Regions from separate parts of the Homo sapiens genome. Here region 1 is linked to region 2. The links are contacts of gene promoters, found by promoter capture Hi-C in blood cells and fetal thymus (Javierre and others, 2016). All regions are on one chromosome and are shown on one strand. Each heading gives the region's core, a stretch centred on a gene start or on the middle of the fragment in contact. The rest is flanking DNA. Distances are from core to core; before and after follow the strand shown.

The links. The method cuts DNA at HindIII sites, captures the fragments that hold promoters and counts their contacts. A CHiCAGO score of 5 or more calls a contact.
Region 1: a fragment that was not itself captured here is called in contact with the fragment with the promoter of OR10H2 in region 2 in 1 of 17 cell types (neutrophils); the score reaches 6.5 in neutrophils.

The regions. Positions count from the first base shown.
Region 1 is chr19:15,153,587-15,159,608 of GRCh38, forward strand. NOTCH3 (notch receptor 3) reads right to left here. Exons shown (of 33, transcript NM_000435.3): 33 at 5,452-6,022. Among named protein-coding and RNA genes, the nearest start is that of MIR6795, 23 kb to the right of the region's middle. The HindIII fragment of the contact is 3,609 bases long and covers 731-4,339 here.
Region 2 is chr19:15,723,578-15,730,108 of GRCh38, forward strand. OR10H2 (olfactory receptor family 10 subfamily H member 2) reads left to right here and starts at 4,447. Exons shown (of 1, transcript NM_013939.2): 1 at 4,447-5,475. The coding sequence starts at 4,467. The coding sequence ends at 5,414. The HindIII fragment of the contact is 20,205 bases long and covers 1-6,531 here.

The DNA.
Region 1 (6,022 bases), core at 1,285-3,784, 570 kb before region 2:
CTAAAAACACACCACCAGCATCACCTTCTCCAGGAAGCCTTCTGTAAGAACCCCCAAGCTAGTCATATGCAGTATCTGGGCTACCAGAAGTCCTGGGTTGTCTCTTCATATTGTCTGTGTTCCTCTGTGTCTCCTGTTAGCCTGTGAGCTGTCGGACCTGGCCTCATCTTATTCCTTTCTCCAGGAGCATTAAACTTAGATGATAAATCTGTTCCTTGCAATGCTCCTTTCTCTTTCTTTTCATGGTATATGCTTTTTCTCTGGCCACTCTTCCTTAGTCTCCTCCTCTTCTGACCCCTAATATGATAATTCCCCAGGGCTCAGTCCTAGACCTTCTTATCTCTCCCTAGCTGATGAATATAGACTCATGATTCTGTGTACCCAATCTATGCCAAAAAGCCTGCATAGTTTGGGTTTCCCCCAGACACAGACTCTGAGACAAGGATTCCAGTGGAAGTAAGTTTATTTGGGAGGTGATACCAGATCTGAAGAAGTGAAAGTAGGAACAAAAGGAAGTTTATAAAGCATGTCCTATCAAGTAACTTATCCCTGTAAGCAACTGGGGTCAATCCCACTGGAGACCTCTGGGTGGCAGCATAGAACATTCACTGCAGAGGGGTAAGGGAGCTGAGGTATGTATACACCCACTCCAGTTGGTTATTGTTGAGGGTTGCTCCTGAGTGCATTAATTATCCAATACTCCTGTCCTGCTGTACATGTGGATGGAGTAAGCTTTAATGTCCAGAGAAAGCCCTCAGACAAATAGATGCAAGCACCGAGTGTTGGAAATCAGGCCAATATGCAGTGAAGTTGTCAGAGAAAGTGGATGCGGGCAGGGGACTGACACCATCTGCTGCATGTGGTTTGTCCACTTCATTTCTGACCATTCTTTGTCACTCTCTTTCTTTACTTTTACTGTTCTGATATTGAAGTAGCTCACGGCTTCAACCTTGACTCTCTTCTCTCTAACTGATTAGTACAATCATATGGTTTTAAATACCACTTCCTTACCAGTATTCCCCAAATCTACATCTTAGATCAGCCAACCACTCTGAGCTCCAGATGCATAATCCAACAATCAATCATCAACCAATGTGAGGTGGAATGTCAGAAAAAATGTCAGAGTAAGGACCTCCATAAATTATGTCCTCCATAAAGAATGAAAAAGCTAGAAAAAATTGTTAGACTAAATTTTTGGGAATTCTAGAAATTAACTAAAGTCTTGCAGCAACTCAGAGAAAATGTATTCAGAAAATTACTGAATATCAGTGAGAACAGCATACTCGGCATTTTAACATCTCTGGTCTTCTCCCCCACTCTCCAGCTCCGTGGTCGTCTTGAAAAATACCAGCCCAAACTCTGGTGCAGCCTGGCATCCACCAGAGAGAGCAAAACAGAACTAGAGCACTTTCAAGCCTCATTCCCAAAGAATTGTCATTATTTTTTAAATTTTATTTATTTATTTATTTATTTATTGAGATGGAGTCTCTCTCTCTCTGTCGCCCAGGCTGGAGTGCGGTGGTGCAATCTCAGCTCACTGCAACCTCCGCCTCCCAGGTTCAAGCAATTCTCCTGCCTCAGCCTCCCAAGTAGCTGGAATTACAGGCATGCACCACCACGCCTGGCTAATTTTTGTATTTTTAGTAGAGACAGCGTTTTACCATGTTGGCCAAGCTGGTCTCAAACTCCCGACCTCAAATGATCTGCCCACCTCGGCCTCCCGAAGTGCTGGGATTACAGGTGTGAGCCACCACACCCGGCCAAGAATTGTCATTATTTACCAAGCTAATGGTTCCCTGCAAGATCCCACTGGCAAAGCTCTCTGTATTTGACCTGGCTCTGAGATAAACCATGCAAAAAGCCTTCACTCTGGGGGTCCTTTGTTGACAACAGCTACAGGAAGGTATTTTAGCTTCATGGATGCCTGAGGCAGTGAGTGACAGTTGAGACAAATAGACTAAACCAAAAGCTAGGGAAGGAGCTGTCTATAGAGGCTTTGAAAGGCTCAGATAAGGCTGGGTGCAGTGGCTTATGCCTGTAATCCCGGCACATTGGCAGGCCAAGGAGGGTGGATCACGAGGTCAGTAGTTCAAGACCAGCCTGCCAACATGGTGACCCTGTCTCTACTTAAAAATACAAAAATTAGGCCAGGCTCAGTGGCTCATGCCTGTAATCCCAGCACTTTGGGAGGCTAAGGCAGGCAGATCACCTGAGGTCGGGAGTTCGAGACCAGGCTGACCAACATGAAGAAACCCCATCTCTACTAAAAATACAAAAATTAGCCAGGCGTAGTGGTGCATGCCTGTAATCCCAGCTACTCAGGAGGTTAAGGCAGGAGAATTGCTTGAACCCAGGAAGCGGAGGTTGCAGTGAGCCAAGATCACGCCATTGCATTCCAGCCTGGGCAACAAGAGTGAAACTCCATCTCAAAAAAAAAAAAAAAAAAAAAGAGAAGAGGCCGGGCACAGTGGCTCACGCCTGTAATCCCAGCACTTTGGGAGGCCAAGGCGGGCGGATCACGAGGTCAGGAGATCGAGACCATCCTGGCTAACATGGTGAAACCCCATCTCTACTAAAAATACAAAAAATTAGCCAGGCGCGGTGGTGGACGCCTGTAGTCCCAGCCACTTGGGAGGCTGAGGCAGGAGAATGGCATGAACCCGGGAGGCAGAGTTTGCAGTGAGCCGAGATCTCGCCACTCCACTCCAGCCTGGGAAATAGAGCAAAACTCCGTCTCAAAAAAAAAAGAAGAAGAAAGATTGGTAGATGGATGGAGAGAAAGATATATAAATGATAGATGATAGAAAAATAGAAAGATTCATAGATATAAATAGACAACAGAGGACAGAGAAGCATAAGATAGATATAGACGGATGAAAGATAAACGATAGATGATAGACATAGATAGATAATAAATAAATGATTGACATTCTAGACAGATGAGGCATGCGCAGAATGTAGGCAAGGAATGTTACTATACCTTGGGGCTCACAATGGTGGAGAGCCTTTATCGCTTCTATGCCAAAAGGGCCAAGCAGAGGAAACAATAACCCAGACCCACAGAGGGTAGGTAGCTGGAGGGAGAGCACTGCAGGTACCCTGCAGGCAGGGAGCCAGGGAGACAAATACATTCCACCCTCTAATCCCTCACCTGTGTCTCTCATTGGCCAAACCCAAGTGGAAGCCAGAGAGTAAGGAAACCCATTGATGCCATCTACCTGGGTCATTCTCCCAGAGCACAGAGAAGAGTTGAGGAAGATCAGTGCAGATCTGGAGGCAAAAAGCAGACACTCAGCTGTTTTATCATTGTCCTTTCAGTCAAAAAACCAACTAGGATGTCAATTCCAAAGTCCCCAACCCTTCCCAACTTCAGCATGCCAATGAAATCACATACATATGAATCCTTGAATCTCATTAGTTAATTTTCCTCCATCACCAGTGCAGGCTTCCTAGTCCTCAACCTAACATCCTTTCTGCAATCATTCCAGGGAGCTCCCAGTGTGGGTGAGTCTCACATGTGCTTACAAATAAGTCAGCTCCACCAGGTACGAAAGTGGGTTCCCGCTGTGGGACACTCTTCTTCAATATTCTGTTGACATGAAGCCAAGGTTGCATGATAGAGTGGACAAAATGGGTAGGGAGAAGGACTTTCTCCTCATTTGTACAGCACTTGGGAAGAAGAATACCCAAACTTGCTTAAGCCCCAGTAGATATTTTATTTTTTATTCCCAAGAATCTACTCATGCATAAAGCTAAGATGGACTTCTCTTGGGCCAATGATTCAAGTGCAAGGAATTTATTCGCAAGATCATTCCAGAAAGCTCTAGTAGGAGTGAGGAAGAGTAGGTTGCTGCTGTGGGCAACTGGGGCTTAATCCCAAAGAGCATCCTTTGGGAGACTCTGTGGATCATATCCATGAATTCCCACAGAGAGTGGCGAGGAAGCTGGGGTATTTATCCACCATCTCTCATTCATCCCTCATATGTTGAGGGTTGCTCCTGCCCCACACAAGAGAAAGTTCCCAGGTGGAGAGTCTCAGGTGTTCAGTCAGATGCTGTCAGCAAGCACTAGAATGGTAAGTTCCAAGGGTATACAGGGGTGCACCCCCCATACATCCCTCAACTAGCCTGAAATTCCATAAAAGCAGAGACTGGGCCTATATAATTCACCATTCTATTCTCAACAACTTGTCCGGGAGTTGGCACACGGTAGGTGCCCAATACAGGTTAGAGGGTAAGGGAATAAACATAAAATAAAGTTGAGACAAACCTAAAAGAGACTGTTTCATCTTCAAAGACTTAGCCTAAAGGGGGTGGGAGAGGAGTAAACATTTATTAGAAGCTTCCACAGAATTCATGCTTCTGCAAACCTGATTGCCCCTAAATTTAGCACATCAGTAGTTCCAAAGAAGAGACTTTAAGACATGCTTTAAGACAACAACAGGTGTGAATCTGCCTCCCAGATGACAATTGGCAATGTCTGGAGACATGTTATATTGGTTGTCACAACTGGAAAAGGGGTGCTGCTGGTAGCTAATGGGTAGGGACCAGAGATGCTATTAAATATCCTACAATGCACAGGACAGCTCCCCACAGCAAAGAATGATTTGGCCCCAAATGTCAATAATGCCGAAATTAAGAAACCTTAGGTTAGAGGGTGGATACGTGAACCAATTGGAGTCAATAGAAAAATCAACCACAAGGTCGAGTGCGATGACTCATGCCTGTAATCCCAGCACTTTGGGAGGCCAAGGTGGATGGATCACCTGAGGTCCGGAGTTCGAGACCAGCCTGGCCAACATGGTGAAATCCTGTCTCTACTGAAAATACAAAAATTAGCCAGGCATGGAGGTGGACACCTGTAATCCCAGCTACTTGGGAGACTGAGGCAGGAGAATTGCTTGAACCCGGAGGCGGGGGATGCAGTGAGCCGAGATTGTGCCATTGCACTCCAGCCTGGGTGACAAGAACAAGACTCTATCTTAAAAAAAAAAAAAAAAAAAGGAAGAAAGTAAAAGAAAAATCAATCACAATACTAGGAGTTTCTCTCTTCCCTGGAAGGAGCAATATGGCACCTATTTTGATAACACAGAGAGAAGGCTGGAGCTGTGTGATGTCGGGAAGAGAGGTTCTACTGGGTGCCATGTGGAGCATGTAGATGAAACTGATGCCCAGAGAAAGCTGTAGAGATGAAGAGAAACTGAGCCATTGTTGACCACATTTGAGCCACTAGATCAATTCTCCCCTGAAGTAGGTCCTTTTAATTTATATGAGCTAATAAACCCCTTTCTTGTTTAAGCCAGTAGACTTTTGTGTCATTTGCAACCAGGAGCACTCCAACTGACAGAATCAACGAACATTAAATCCTATCCTCCTTTCCTGAAGACACCAGTGTAAACAGAACCTTGTCTTGGAGCACGACTGGTTGCGAGTAACAGAAACCCACCGAAGCTGGCACAAGTAAAGAAGTATTTATTACATGGGTCCAAGGTTATCTCCAAAACCCATAGGAGCATGAAGTAAAAGTGAAATTCATGCAGAACCATGATCAGATACTTAGAAAGCAATTAATAAATACCTGTTGATCTCAATGGAATGAACACTCAATTAACTGGAATTGATAACTGCACTGGGAGCCGAGATAACCCCCCCAGCCCTCAAGGAGCCATTTGAGCTCTCATTTCTGATTCTCCCTGAATATTAGCTTCATTCTTCTGCCCTGTTTGCTTGTCTCTTTGCCCACCACCTCGAATTGGCCACTGATATTTCTAAATCTGATTGTGACCTTAAGAGCTCCACCAACTGACAACTTTCTTAGCCTCTCCATTAAAGAAAGTTCTCGAGCAAAAGAATCTGATTGGCTCAGCTTAAGTCAGGTGACAACCACTAATCCAATCGGTAGTCATCTGCCAAAAGAGGAAGCATAAGTAGACTGGCAAGTCAAATGTATTTACCCCAAGATGGGAGCTCAAGTTAGCCCTGGGTGGGGGAGATAGAAGTCCCACTGCCACCACTCCCCACCT
Region 2 (6,531 bases), core at 3,197-5,696:
TCTCGGCTCACTGCAACCTCCTCCTCCCGGGTTCAAGCAATTCTCCTGTCTCAGTGATTCTCCTGTGATTCTCAGTGATTCTCCTGCCTCAGCCTCCTGAGTAGCTGGGATTACAGGCATGTGTCGCCACGCCCAGCTAATTTTTGTATTTTTAGTAGAGACAGGGTTTCACCAGGTCGGCCAGGCTGGTCTCGAACTCCTGACCTCAGGCGATTCACCTGCCTCAGCCTCGCAAAGTGCTGGGATTACAGGCGTGAGCCACCGTGCCCGGCCCCATGGTGTACTTTTTAAAAATTGAAATAAAATTCTCATAATATTGAATTAAATAGTATAAAGTGTACAATTTAGTGGTGTTTAGTACATTCACAAGGTTGTACAACCACCACCTCTATCTAGTTTCAGAATATTTTTGTCCCCACCCTTAAAAACCCGTACCCATGAGCAATCACTCCCCATTCCCCCCTCCCAGCCCCTGTCAACCAACACCTGCTTTCTGTCTCTATGGATTGGCCTGTTCTGGACATTTCATAGCAATGGGATCAGAATATATGTGACTCTTTTGTCTGGCTTCTTCCACTCAATATCGTGTTTTCAAGGCTCCTCATTTTGCATGGGTCATGATCCGTGTTGCATGGGTCAGTGCTTTATTCCTTTTTATTTTTTATAGGTATATAGTAGGTGTGTATACTTATGGGGTACATGAGCTGTTTGGACAAAGGCATACGATGAGTAATAATTACATCAGGGTAAATACAGGATCCATCACCTCAACCATCACCTCAAGCATTTGTTGTTTCTTTGTGTTACAAACATTCCAATTATATATATATATATATATATAATTTTTTTTTGACAGAGTCTTGCTCTGTCGCCCAGGCTGGAGTGCAGTGGCATGATCTTGGCTCACTGCAACCTCTACCTCCCAGGTTCAAGTGATTCTCCTGCCTCAGCCTCCCGAGTAGCTGGGACTACAGGCACATGCCACCACACCCAGCTAATTTTTGTATTTTTAGCAGAGACGGAGTTTCACTATGTTGGCCAGGATGGTCTCGATCTCTTGACCTTGTGATCTGCCCGCCTTGGCCTCCCAAAATGCTGAGATTACAGGCATGAGCCACCACACCCGGCCTCCAACTATACTTATTATATTAACTAATTATATTTAGCTCTTATAAAATATACATTAAATTATTGTTGATTGTAATCCCCCTGTTGTGATATCAAATACTAGATCTTATTCATTCTGTCTAACTATACTTTTTTACGCATTAATCATCCCCACTCCCCCCCAGCTATGTGCACTACCCTTCCCAGCCTCTAATAAACATCCTTCTGCTCTCTATGTCCCTGAAAGCAATTCTTTTAACTTTTGGCTACCACAAATGAATGAGAACATGCAAAGTCTGTCTTTCTGTGCCTGGCTTATTTCACTTGACATAATGACCTCCAGTTCCATTCATTTTGTTGCAAAGGACTGGATCTCATTCCTTTTTTGTGTCTGAGTAATACTCCATTGTGTATATGTACCACATTTTCTTTAACTAATTCTCTGTTGATGGACACTTAGGTTTCTTCCGAATCTGGGCTATTGTGAATAGTGCTGCAGTAAGCATGAGTGAAGAAATCTCTTCAATGTACTAATTTCCTGGCTCACATCTGTAATCCCAGCACTTTGGGAGGCTGAAGTGGGTGGATCACTTGAGGTCAGGAGTTTGAGACCAGCCTGGCCAAAATGGTGAAACCCCTCTCTACTAAAAATACAAAAATTAGCTGGGTGTGGTGGCAGGCACCTGTAATCCCAGCTAAGTGGGAGGGTGATGCAGGAGAATCTCTTGAACCTAGGAGGTGGAGGTTGTAGTGAGGTGAGAATATGCTATTGCACTCCAGCCTGGGCAATACAGTGAGACTGTCTCAAAAATAAAATTATGATTTTCTTTCTTTAGGGTATATGCCTAGCAGTGAGATTGCTGGATTGTAAGGTAGTTCTATTTTAGTTTTTGGGAAACTTCCATACTGTTCTCCATAGTGGCTGTACTAATTTACATCGCCACCAACAGTGTATGAGGATTCCCTTTTCTCTGTGTTCTCACCTGGATTCTCTATCTTTTGGACAAAGCTATTTATTGTCTTCTATCTTTTAGATAAAAGCTGTTTTAACTGGCATGAGCTTTCAAAAATTTAGATTAAATTTATTTAACCTGAAATTATCCTTTAAATATTTTAAAGTGGACAATCAGTGGCATTTAGTACATTAACATGTTGTGCAGCTACTACCTCTAGTTACAAGACATTGTCACCATTCCAAAAAGAACTTCATATCCATTCATCAGTCATTCCCCATCCCACGCTAGCCCCATTCCCTGACAACCACACATCTGCTTTCTTTCTCAGTGGATTTAACTATTCTGGACATTTCTTATAAATGGAATTATATACTATGTGGCCTTTTGTGTCTGGCTTCCTTCACTCAGCCTCATGTTCTCAAAGTGCATCCACGCTGTTGCATGTATCACTGATTCAATCTTTGCGTGGTTGCATAATATTTCATTGTGTGGTCGGACCACATTTTGTTTATCCATTCATTCATTGATCCAGTTTGCATTGTAACATAAACTTTTGTATTTTGCATCTAGCCTGTTTGCAGACTGGCAAGAAAGAGAGTGGGAGAGGAGTCACAGCCTCCTAGTTTAGTTTGTTGGGGAACTTCCATAAACTAAATAAAGTAGAAGGGCTCCTATTGGTGCAGGGAGGAGAGCTGCCCTGGCAGAGAAATTGGGCAGATCTGACTCTGTGGCCACTCAGGGAAGGTGATGAGAGAAGCCATGGCTGATAGCCTAGGTTTTTGCTGTTAGGTTTGGGATTGGAGGATTGGGGTTGGGGTCAAAAAGAGGAGGAGACCAGCAGAGTCACGTAGTGGAAGCATGCTGGGCCCATAGCCTAGAGGTCAGTGGACCATAACCATTTTCTGCTAAGAAGTTTTTGACTGGGCATGGTGGCTCACACCTATAAATCCCAGCACTTTGGGAAGCTGAGGCAGGCTGATCACTTGAACTCAGAAGTTCAAGACCAGCCCGAGCAACATGGTTAAACCCCATCTCTACTAAAAATACAAAAATTAGCCAGGTGTGGTGATGCGGGCCTGTAATCCCAGCTACTCAGGAGGCGGAGGCAGGAGAATTGCTTGAACCCAGGAGGCGGAGGTTGCAGTGAGCCGAGATCATGCCACTGCATTCCAGCAGGGACAGAGTGAGACTCTGTCTCAAAGAAAAAAAAAAAAAAAAGCGGAATTGTGATAGAGAAAGAGTAATTCACACAGAGCTGGCTCTGCAGGGGACTGGAGTTTTATTATTACTCAAATCAGTCTCCCTGAGCACTTGGGGAGCAGAGTTTTTAAGGACAACTTGGTGGGTGGAGGGGAAGCCAGTGAGCCAGCAGTGCTGATTGGTCAGAGATGAAATCAAAGCTGTCTTCTTGCGGAGAGTCAGTTCCTGGGTGGGGGCCACAAGATCAGTTGAGCCAGTTTATCGACCTGGGTGGTGCCAGCTGATCCATCAAGTGCAGGATCTGCAAAATATCTCAAGCACTGATCTTGGGAGCAATTTAGGGAGGGTCAGAATCTTGTAGCCTCCAGCTGCATGACTCCTAAACCATAATTTCTAATCTTGTGGCTAATGTTAGTTCTACAAAGGCAATCTAATCCCCAGACAAGAAGGAGGTCTGCTTTGGGAAAGGGCTGTTATCGTCCTTGTTCCAAACTATAAACTATAAACTATAAACTAAATTTCCCCCAAAGTTAGTTCACCCTATGTCCTGGAATGAACAAGGACAGCTTGGAGGTTAGAAGCAAGATGGAGTTGGTTAAGTTAGATCTCTTTCGCTGTCTCAGTCATAATTTTGCAAAGGTGGTTTCAATTTTCCAGGGGAGCAATGAGGCTCAGAGAGGGGAAGCAACCTGCCCTGCATCTCACAGCTAGAAAGCAGTGGTGCCGAGAATTAAACAGAGTCTGGACGTTTCCATGACATAGGGAAGAGATGACTTCCAGCTGAAGGTGGCAATCAGGGAGCAGCTTGCTCATAAAATTCAGGTAGGATTTGGACCCATAAAGATAGGGAAAAGCATGAAAAGACCAGCATGAACAAAGGCAGAAAAGCAAGGTGTAGGTGGTGGTGCATGGATCTAATAATCGTGATGGCAATAACAATAGCAGAATAATTATTACTATCAACATTTATAATTTATTAAATTCTTACTTTGTGTCAGGACCTGCACAAAGCACTTAAGGTGAGTGATCTTATTTAAACCTCAATACATTATTATTAATGCCTTTCTGCAGATGGAGTAACCATGGCTTGGACAGATGAAGGAGGCGCTCTCAGATGTCCTCCCAGGCAGGAATCACTAGACACCCCCATGCTCCTAACCACTGGGTCTTCTTTCCTCTCTTCCCCAACTAGGGGTGGCCGTCATGCTGGGGCTAAACCACACCTCCATGTCTGAATTCATCCTCGTCGGCTTCTCTGCCTTCCCCCACCTCCAACTGATGCTCTTCCTGCTGTTCCTGCTGATGTACCTGTTCACGCTGCTGGGCAACCTGCTCATCATGGCCACCGTCTGGAGCGAGCGCAGCCTCCACACGCCCATGTACCTCTTCCTGTGCGTCCTCTCAGTCTCCGAGATCCTCTACACCGTGGCCATCATCCCGCGCATGCTGGCCGACCTGCTGTCCACCCAGCGCTCCATCGCCTTCCTGGCCTGTGCCAGTCAGATGTTCTTCTCCTTCAGCTTCGGCTTCACCCACTCCTTCCTGCTCACCGTCATGGGCTACGACCGCTACGTGGCCATCTGCCACCCCCTGCGCTACAACGTGCTCATGAGCCCACGGGGCTGCGCCTGCCTGGTGGGCTGCTCCTGGGCTGGTGGCTCGGTCATGGGGATGGTGGTGACCTCGGCCATTTTCCAACTGACTTTCTGTGGATCCCATGAGATCCAGCATTTTTTATGTCATGTGCCACCTCTGTTGAAGTTGGCCTGTGGAAATAATGTACCAGCTGTGGCCCTGGGCGTGGGCTTGGTATGTATCATGGCACTGCTGGGCTGTTTTCTCCTCATCCTCCTCTCCTATGCCTTCATCGTGGCCGACATCTTGAAGATCCCTTCTGCTGAAGGTCGGAACAAGGCCTTCTCCACCTGTGCCTCTCACCTTATTGTGGTCATTGTGCACTATGGCTTTGCCTCTGTCATCTACCTCAAGCCCAAAGGTCCCCACTCTCAGGAGGGTGACACCCTGATGGCCACCACCTACGCAGTCCTCACGCCCTTCCTCAGCCCCATCATCTTCAGCCTCAGGAACAAAGAACTGAAGGTTGCCATGAAGAGGACCTTCCTCAGCACACTCTATTCCTCAGGCACCTGAGTAGCTGGTGTGGAAGTGCTGATAGAATATGATAGGAGGATGACCATCACCTTGTCTGCACAGTGTGGCTAGTAATGCTTACCTTGTAAGGCAGGTGTAAAGATTTCTGTATATGACAACACTCATCACATAGTAGGTGCTCAGTAAATGTTAAAAGCATGTTTACTTCCACAACTCTTGATCTGTATGTCTTTATCTGAGTTTTAATTTTTGAGTTATAGTAGCTTTATTAAGATGTAATTCACCTACCATACAATGTACCCATTAGAGCGCACATTTCTGTGGTTTTTGCGTATTCAGAGTTATGCAACCATCATGACAATCTGGCTTAGAGTATTTTAGTCATCCAAAAAAGAAACCCAAATCCTAGTGCTTTGGAAGGCTGAGTGGGAGAATTGTTTGATGTCAGGAATTCACGATCGGTCTGGACAACATAGTGAGATGCCATCTACACACACACACAAACACATACACACACACAAGTTCTTTTTTTTTTAATTTATTACACTTTAAGTTTTAGGGTACATATGCACTACGTACAGGTTAGTTACATACATATACATGTGCCATGTTGGTGTGCTGCACCCATTAACTTGTCATTTAACATTAGGTATATCTCCTAATGCTATCCCTCCCCACTCCCCCTACCCCACAACAGGCCCCAGTCTGTGATGTTCCCCTTCCTGACACACACAAAAATTCTGATAATTAGCTAAATGGGGTGGCACATTCCTGTAGCCCCAGCTACTCCAGAGGCTGATGTGGGAGGATTGCTTGCATCCAGGAGTTCGAGGCTGCAGTGAGCCATGATCACCACTGAACTCTGACTTGGGCAACAGAGCCAAACCTTGTCTCAAACAAACAAACAACCCATACTCATTATCAGTCACTCTCTGTTTCCTCCAAATCTCCATGCCCTCCAGCCCTAGGGAGCCACTAATCTTTCTGTCTGGTTAGAGTTGCTTTTTCTGGACGTTTCACATCAATGGACAACTGTAAATATAATTCTTTTATTTTCAGATGAATTGTTTCACTGAGCATAATGTTTTTGAAGTTCTCCTACATTGTAGCTTGTATCAGTACATCATCTTTTTTTTTTTTCAAGACAGAGTCTCAC